2 separate regions of the Homo sapiens genome follow, and region 2 is linked to region 1. The links are contacts of gene promoters, found by promoter capture Hi-C in human tissues and cell types (Jung and others, 2019). All regions are on one chromosome and are shown on one strand. The core of a region is centred on a gene start or on the middle of the fragment in contact, and the rest is flanking DNA. Distances in the headings are between cores, read along the strand shown. Region 1 holds the start of CEP68 (centrosomal protein 68). Region 2 has its middle 8.2 kb from the start of SERTAD2.

What was found. Contacts are between HindIII fragments. The study calls those that stand out against the background at their distance.
Region 2: a contact is called between a fragment that was not itself captured here and the fragment with the promoter of CEP68 in region 1, in 1 of the 25 tissues and cell types used here (lymphoblastoid cells).

What each region holds. Positions count from the first base shown.
Region 1 is chr2:65,054,934-65,057,839 of GRCh38, forward strand. It overlaps CEP68 (centrosomal protein 68), which reads left to right and starts at 1,483. Exons shown (of 7, transcript NM_015147.3): 1 at 1,483-1,595. RefSeq lists an enhancer at 1,076-1,315 and silencers at 1,416-1,525, 1,606-1,945, 2,576-2,625, 2,636-2,715. The HindIII fragment of the contact is 11,141 bases long and covers 1-2,906 here.
Region 2 is chr2:64,660,616-64,663,609 of GRCh38, forward strand. No RefSeq gene overlaps it. Among named protein-coding and RNA genes, the nearest start is that of SERTAD2, 8.2 kb to the left of the region's middle. The HindIII fragment of the contact is 3,759 bases long and covers 1-2,994 here.

The sequences.
Region 1 (2,906 bases), core at 233-2,732:
GTGACTTGGCTGTGGGATTAGGTGACTCCACTGGAGGTCTTCTGTGTATAGAAAAGATCAAGGGTCACAAACACAAATGCCTTCAGGTAGGCAGCAAATGTGTGAAGGCTGGCTGTTACTTAATGGACCAGTGGTGGTGGTGGGATTCAAATTCTTATTAAAAAACAAAAGCAAACAAACAAAGAAAAGCTATGCGATGCCCAAATAAAACCATCTGTGGGCTAGCTGCTGCTGTTGTCCAAAGTTTGTGGCCCCTGGGTTAGACAAAACCTCTGAGCTGTCCTGACAGGTCTGGGAAAACCAAACAAGTCCTTGTCTCCTAAACTACCTGGGACTCAAGAGCTCTGTAGGAAAAAATTTGTACCCTGCACCCAGCTGGGGTTGACATTTACAGACGCCTGTTTTATGAACTGGGGAGATATTCAGTTGAAGCCAGATTGCTGAAAGTGCTGCTGAGAGAAAATCATCAGAAGGGAGGGCCTCTTCCCCACGCCACCCTGGTGGTAGTTCCTCTATGCCTCCGGATTCTGCTAAGCAGTAAAAGCTAAAGGGCAGTGTCATTAAGCTCCTAGGGGATGGGATGCAGTGGCTCACACCTGTAATTCCAGCACTTTGGGAGGCCGAGGCGGGAGGATCGTCTGAGTCCAGGAGTTCAAGCCCAGCCTGGGCAACACAGCAAGACCCCATCTTTGCAAAATAGATAGATAGATAGAGATGTATGAAAGTTACTAGGTCCCATGCTGGCAGGGGAGAGAGTGAGCACCCTGGCCTCCCACAAGCTGCCTCCCACTTCCCTCCGACTCCATCACCGATTTCCCATCAGAGCAGGCTGCTCAGAGTGGCTAAGTAGCTACCAGTTCATTTTCCACACCCTTCCCATTCTCCACGAGCCAGAGCTCCACCTCCCCCCAGAAGCTGTCTTCAACCACCCGGCCTGGGGAGCTCCCCTCAGCACTGGCTCCCCGCCCCGCCTCGCAGCACCTGTTCGGGCCTCGGTCGCGCCGCCGGGTCTTGCAGACGCGAATGTAAACAGAAACACAGTGAAAGGCGTTCGGAGAGCCTCGTGACTGCGGCACGGCGGCGAGCCGGGAACATCAGTGCGTCCAGAGCAAAATGAACGAATGTACGCATGACTCCTGGAGCGACCTTCACGAGGGAAAGCGCGCCCCCCGGCACCCACCCCTAAGCGCCCCAAAATGACCAGCCTTTACACAACCCAGCTCGCAGGCGAAGCTGAGGTCGGAGCTCCAAAAGCGAGGGAGGACAGCCGCTGAAGAAGTCCCGGCTTCCCATAGGCCAGGACGAAGTAGGGGGCGGGCTCATCTTGCAGGAGCGTCCACGTATTGGTGGAGCCGCGGACTTAGAGCTGCGATTCGCTGCGCGAAATTGCCGAAAGCCCTCCCGCGGAGGGAGAAGGGGCGGGAAGAAGGGCGTGGTCAGCGCGGCCGAAGGGCGTGGTTGGCGCTCGGTCCTGCCCTGCGCGTTTTGGGCTGCGGTTGGAGGGCCGCAGTTGCAGTCAGGGTCCGCCAGCTCGGGGCCAGCGCATGGGGCTGCTGAGACCGCTCCGGACGTGCGAAGCGTTCGCGGTGCGGTAGGTAGGCAGTGTCCCGCGTGCGGGTGCTGGTGTCGGGGGTGCCGCGGCGCTGGGGGCGGTGGCCCGGGCTAGATCCGCGCGCGCGCCCGGCCCCCTCCCCCGCGTCTCTTCGGTGCCTGCGGGGCCCTTGCGGTGCGGGCCGTCTGGCCTCGCGTCCCCGCCGGCAAGGGCACAAAGGCTCCCTGGGGGGCGGGGGCGCCTCGTGCCTTCGCCTCCATCTTGCGAGCGGAACGGCGTGTGCTGTGGCGGCCGAGGGGTCGGGGCCGAGGCGGGCGGCTGGGCTTGGGAATGCCCGGGCGCGGCGAGGGAGTGCGCGAGTCCGCGCATCTGGCGGCCGAGCAGCTGCGCCGCTGGTCGGCCTGGGCCCCGGGGGAGGTCACTTTCCCTCAGGCCTCTCCCGGGCGTGGGCTGTTTACCCAGCTCCCCAGTCGGGGCTAATGCAGCTCGGGCCTTTCCCCCTGGAAAGATGGAGACCAGTGATGTCTTCTTATCGCCGCGCCCAGATGCGGAGAGAAAAAATCAAGATGTCTCATTTTTTTTGCCTCGGAGGGCTACCCTTTCTAACTGTCATCACTAGAACAGTTCTCAGCAGCCTGGGGACGAATGTCCAAAACCTGTTCCAGGCCCTTGATGATTAGTAGGTTGGGTTTAGTGTATTGTTTGTAACAAAAATGAGCGGAAGCCTGCCAGGGCAGATTGGACCTCACTGGGAATTCATCAGGACCACGAAGGGAGGTAGCGTTTGTAAATAATCTAACAGTTCTCAGATCTAGGGTATGAAGAGTGTTGTGTTAAAGTGTGTAACAAAGGTTGTTGGGTCAGTTTGCCTTGGGTTTAGTTGAAAGATCTAGAAGTCACCACTTTTTACTTTGTTCCCTCCATTCCCCTTTCCCACCCTCTGTTGAGTCAATTCTGGCCCACTTAGAAAACAACAACAACAAAAAACCCAAGGAATTCAGTTTAACCTCTTTTGCGCAAAGCTTTTTAAAGCACTTCCCCACCCTGCGACTGATAACTCCTCCCTTTTTTGGGCTACCTTCTGCAGCCTCTGTTTTTACTCATCACACTGTATTGTGGTTTCCCCAGCCCCTAGCACAATGCTTGGAACATAAAAGGCACTCAATGATGGAAGGAAGCCAAAAGGAAACAAAATCAGCGTGGTAGTCTAAAGGTGACACAACAGAAACATTTATTTAACTTCTTGAGCGAGTTATTCTTACAGGTTAGGAAGGCAGCTAAGCTCAGGCTCTCTAAGTCAAACAGGCTTTAGCTCTGCCATGTTACTAACTCTGATTAATTTTTTTTTTAATGG
Region 2 (2,994 bases), core at 149-2,648, 390 kb before region 1:
CTATCTTTTGGTTTACATATTCTTATATTTATTGTAGAAACTATCTAGGATTGAGTACCTTTAAGCCTTATAAGTAAAGAGGACTTTTAAGCATGGTGAATTTTGTAATGTAAATAATATATTTAAACCATTTTTTGAAGTCTCAGCTATAAAAATTCTACTTAAGAGAAGTTAAAAAAAAAAATCAAGACTTTAATGTGAATAGGTGCCCAGGAAGTGCCTCCAAGTTTAGGCTATGAGGCATCATTAGAAAATAAACGTGAACAGAAGATACAGTTTAAGTGTAAAACACAATATACAACTAAAAATGAATCAGCCCTTTGCCACATGAATTTGTATTAGTTTTCTAGGGGAGAGGTAACACTTGCCAAGACTGTGTAGGCTTTACCTTTTAGTCGCTAATGTAGAATTGTCTTTTAAAGACCTGTTGCCAGAATAAACAAGACGTTTTCAAAATTATCCAACCTGTCTAATAATACTAGTCTTTTGCTTTAAACTGGAATATATATATATACACACACACACACACACACACAATTTAAAATTTATAGCCAGGCATGGTGGTTCATGCCTGTAACCCCAGCACCTTGGGAGGCTGAGGTGGACAGGTCACTTGCGGCCAGGAGTTCGAGACCAGCCTGGCAAACATGGCAAAACCCCGTCTCTACTAAAAATACAAAAAAATTAGCTGGGCATGGTGGCACACGCCTGTATTCCCAGCTACTCGGGAGGCTGAGGCATGAGAATTGCTTGAGTCCAGGAGGCAGAGGTTGCAGTGAGCTGAGATCGCACCACTGCACACCAGCCTAGGCAACAGAGCTGACTCAAAACAAATTAAAGAATGAATGAAAATAAAATAAAATGTATAATTTTTGTTCTCTTTCTCTTTTTTGTTTTTAGTTTTTAAATTTTTATATCTAAAATTTCAGAAATGCAGAGTAAAGTCAAGTAGGAAGAAAATAAAGCAAGCAGCTCAGACACCAACACCACATTAGGTACACTTGTATAAGTAGTCAATTGTTTTTTCAAAAATATACTTTAAATATTGAACAAAAGATTTAATCTTGCTAAGTAATATTTGTTTCAAAGCGGTTTTCTTGGAGAAGTCTTGTTTAGGTTATAGGAAACTCCTCACATGGGCAGAGAAGCTAGCTTTAAGGAGAAAATAATAGTGTGAATGATCTATCTGCAACTTCCCTTTTAAAAACAGAAGTTGAATCTGTAACACCAAATTTAGAAAGGAGAGTGGATGGCAGCAAATACCCTAAGAATATCATCTGTAGCACAGACGCCCACTGCTGTTCTGTTCTGTTACAATTAAATGTACACTTTACAATCCTGAACTTGCTCAGACAATGCATATATTTAAAGATGATTCATTTAAAAGAAAACATACATCTGAAAGAGTCACAACAAGTCAAAAATCTCACTTAAAAAGTGCCAGATTCCCTCACTATGAGTGCAGAGCTATTCATTTGGCCTCTTTACACAGAGTGCAGCACAATCCAGTACTGGGCTACGGAAAAATCATTTTTGTGGGACTAATGTTGATAATTTCAACATAATTTCTGTTTAGCTTCCTTTAAGAAACTAAAGCCCAAATTACAAAAAGGTAGAAAAAATTTTTAATTAATCAGATACTGATTTTCAATCCATTCTGATTTGTTGCCCCTTTAAAACTGTGAGACATCATGCTTTTAGTTTTAATAACAATTAACAGCAATGAGAATAAAGATTCCAGAATTACGATTTTCTCATTACAGCCAAAAATGAAAAGTGAGAAGACAAACACCTTTCCAAAAGTTCATCAGATGAAAAGATAAAAATTAATGGGGAGCCATACCATTTAATGGACAAGAATACTTAATACTATATACATGCAGATTCTCCCCCAAACTTATCAACAAATTACATGAAATTTAAATCCCATATTTTCCTTCAATGGAACTTGGCAAATGAATCCTAAAATTCATCTGAAATAGAAAAGGGCCAAACACAGTTGTAATAAGCTTAAGGAACAAGATGGGGGACATGTCCTATCAGAGCTTATTATAAAGCTCTAGTAATTAGAGCAGAGTAGAGTTGACATAGGTACAGATAAATAGATCAATGGAACAGAATTGAGAGTTCAGAACCACATATATATGGAAGTGTAATACATGACTGAAGTGAAATTACAGATCAGTAAGGAAAGAATTCAATAAGTAGCTCAGGGCCAGGCACGATGGCTCACACCTATAATCGCAGCACTTCAGGAGGCTGAGGCAGAAGGATCGCTTGAACCCTGCCTGGGCAACATGAAGAGACCCTGTCTCTACAAAAATTTTAAAAATTAGCTGAGCAGGCTGGGCACGGTGGCTCATGCCTGTAATCCCACCACTCTGGGAGGCCGAGGCGGGTGGATCACGGGGTAAGGAGTTCGAGACCAGCCTGGCCAACATAGTGAAACCCAATCTCTACTAAACATACAAAAAAAATTAGCCAGGCGTGGTGGCGGGCTCCTGTAATCCCAACTACTTGGGAGGCTGAGGCAGGAGAATCACTTGAACCTGGGAGGCAGAGGTTGCAGTGAGCCGAGATTGCACCACTGCACTCCAGCCCAGGCAACAGAGAGAGACTCCATCTCAAAAAGAAACAAAACAAAACAAAACAAAAAACCAACATTTAGCAGAGCATAGTGGTTCCAGATTCTCAGGAGGCTGAGGTGGGAGGATCGCTTGAGTCCAGGAGGTCAAGGCGGCAGTGAGCTATGTTGGTACCACTGCACTCCAGCCTAGGTGACAGAGCGAGACTGTCTCAAAAAAATTATAAATAAATAGCTCAGGGCCACCTGATTACCTGTATGAAAAATAAATTAGGTGCCTAATATTTACAAAAAAATATATTTCAGGTAGACTAAATAGGTAAAACAAAATTTTAAACTTTTGGGAGAGAATATATGAAAATATGTTTATGGCTTTAGGATAAGGAAAATGTGCTGACTGTAGTTCATCT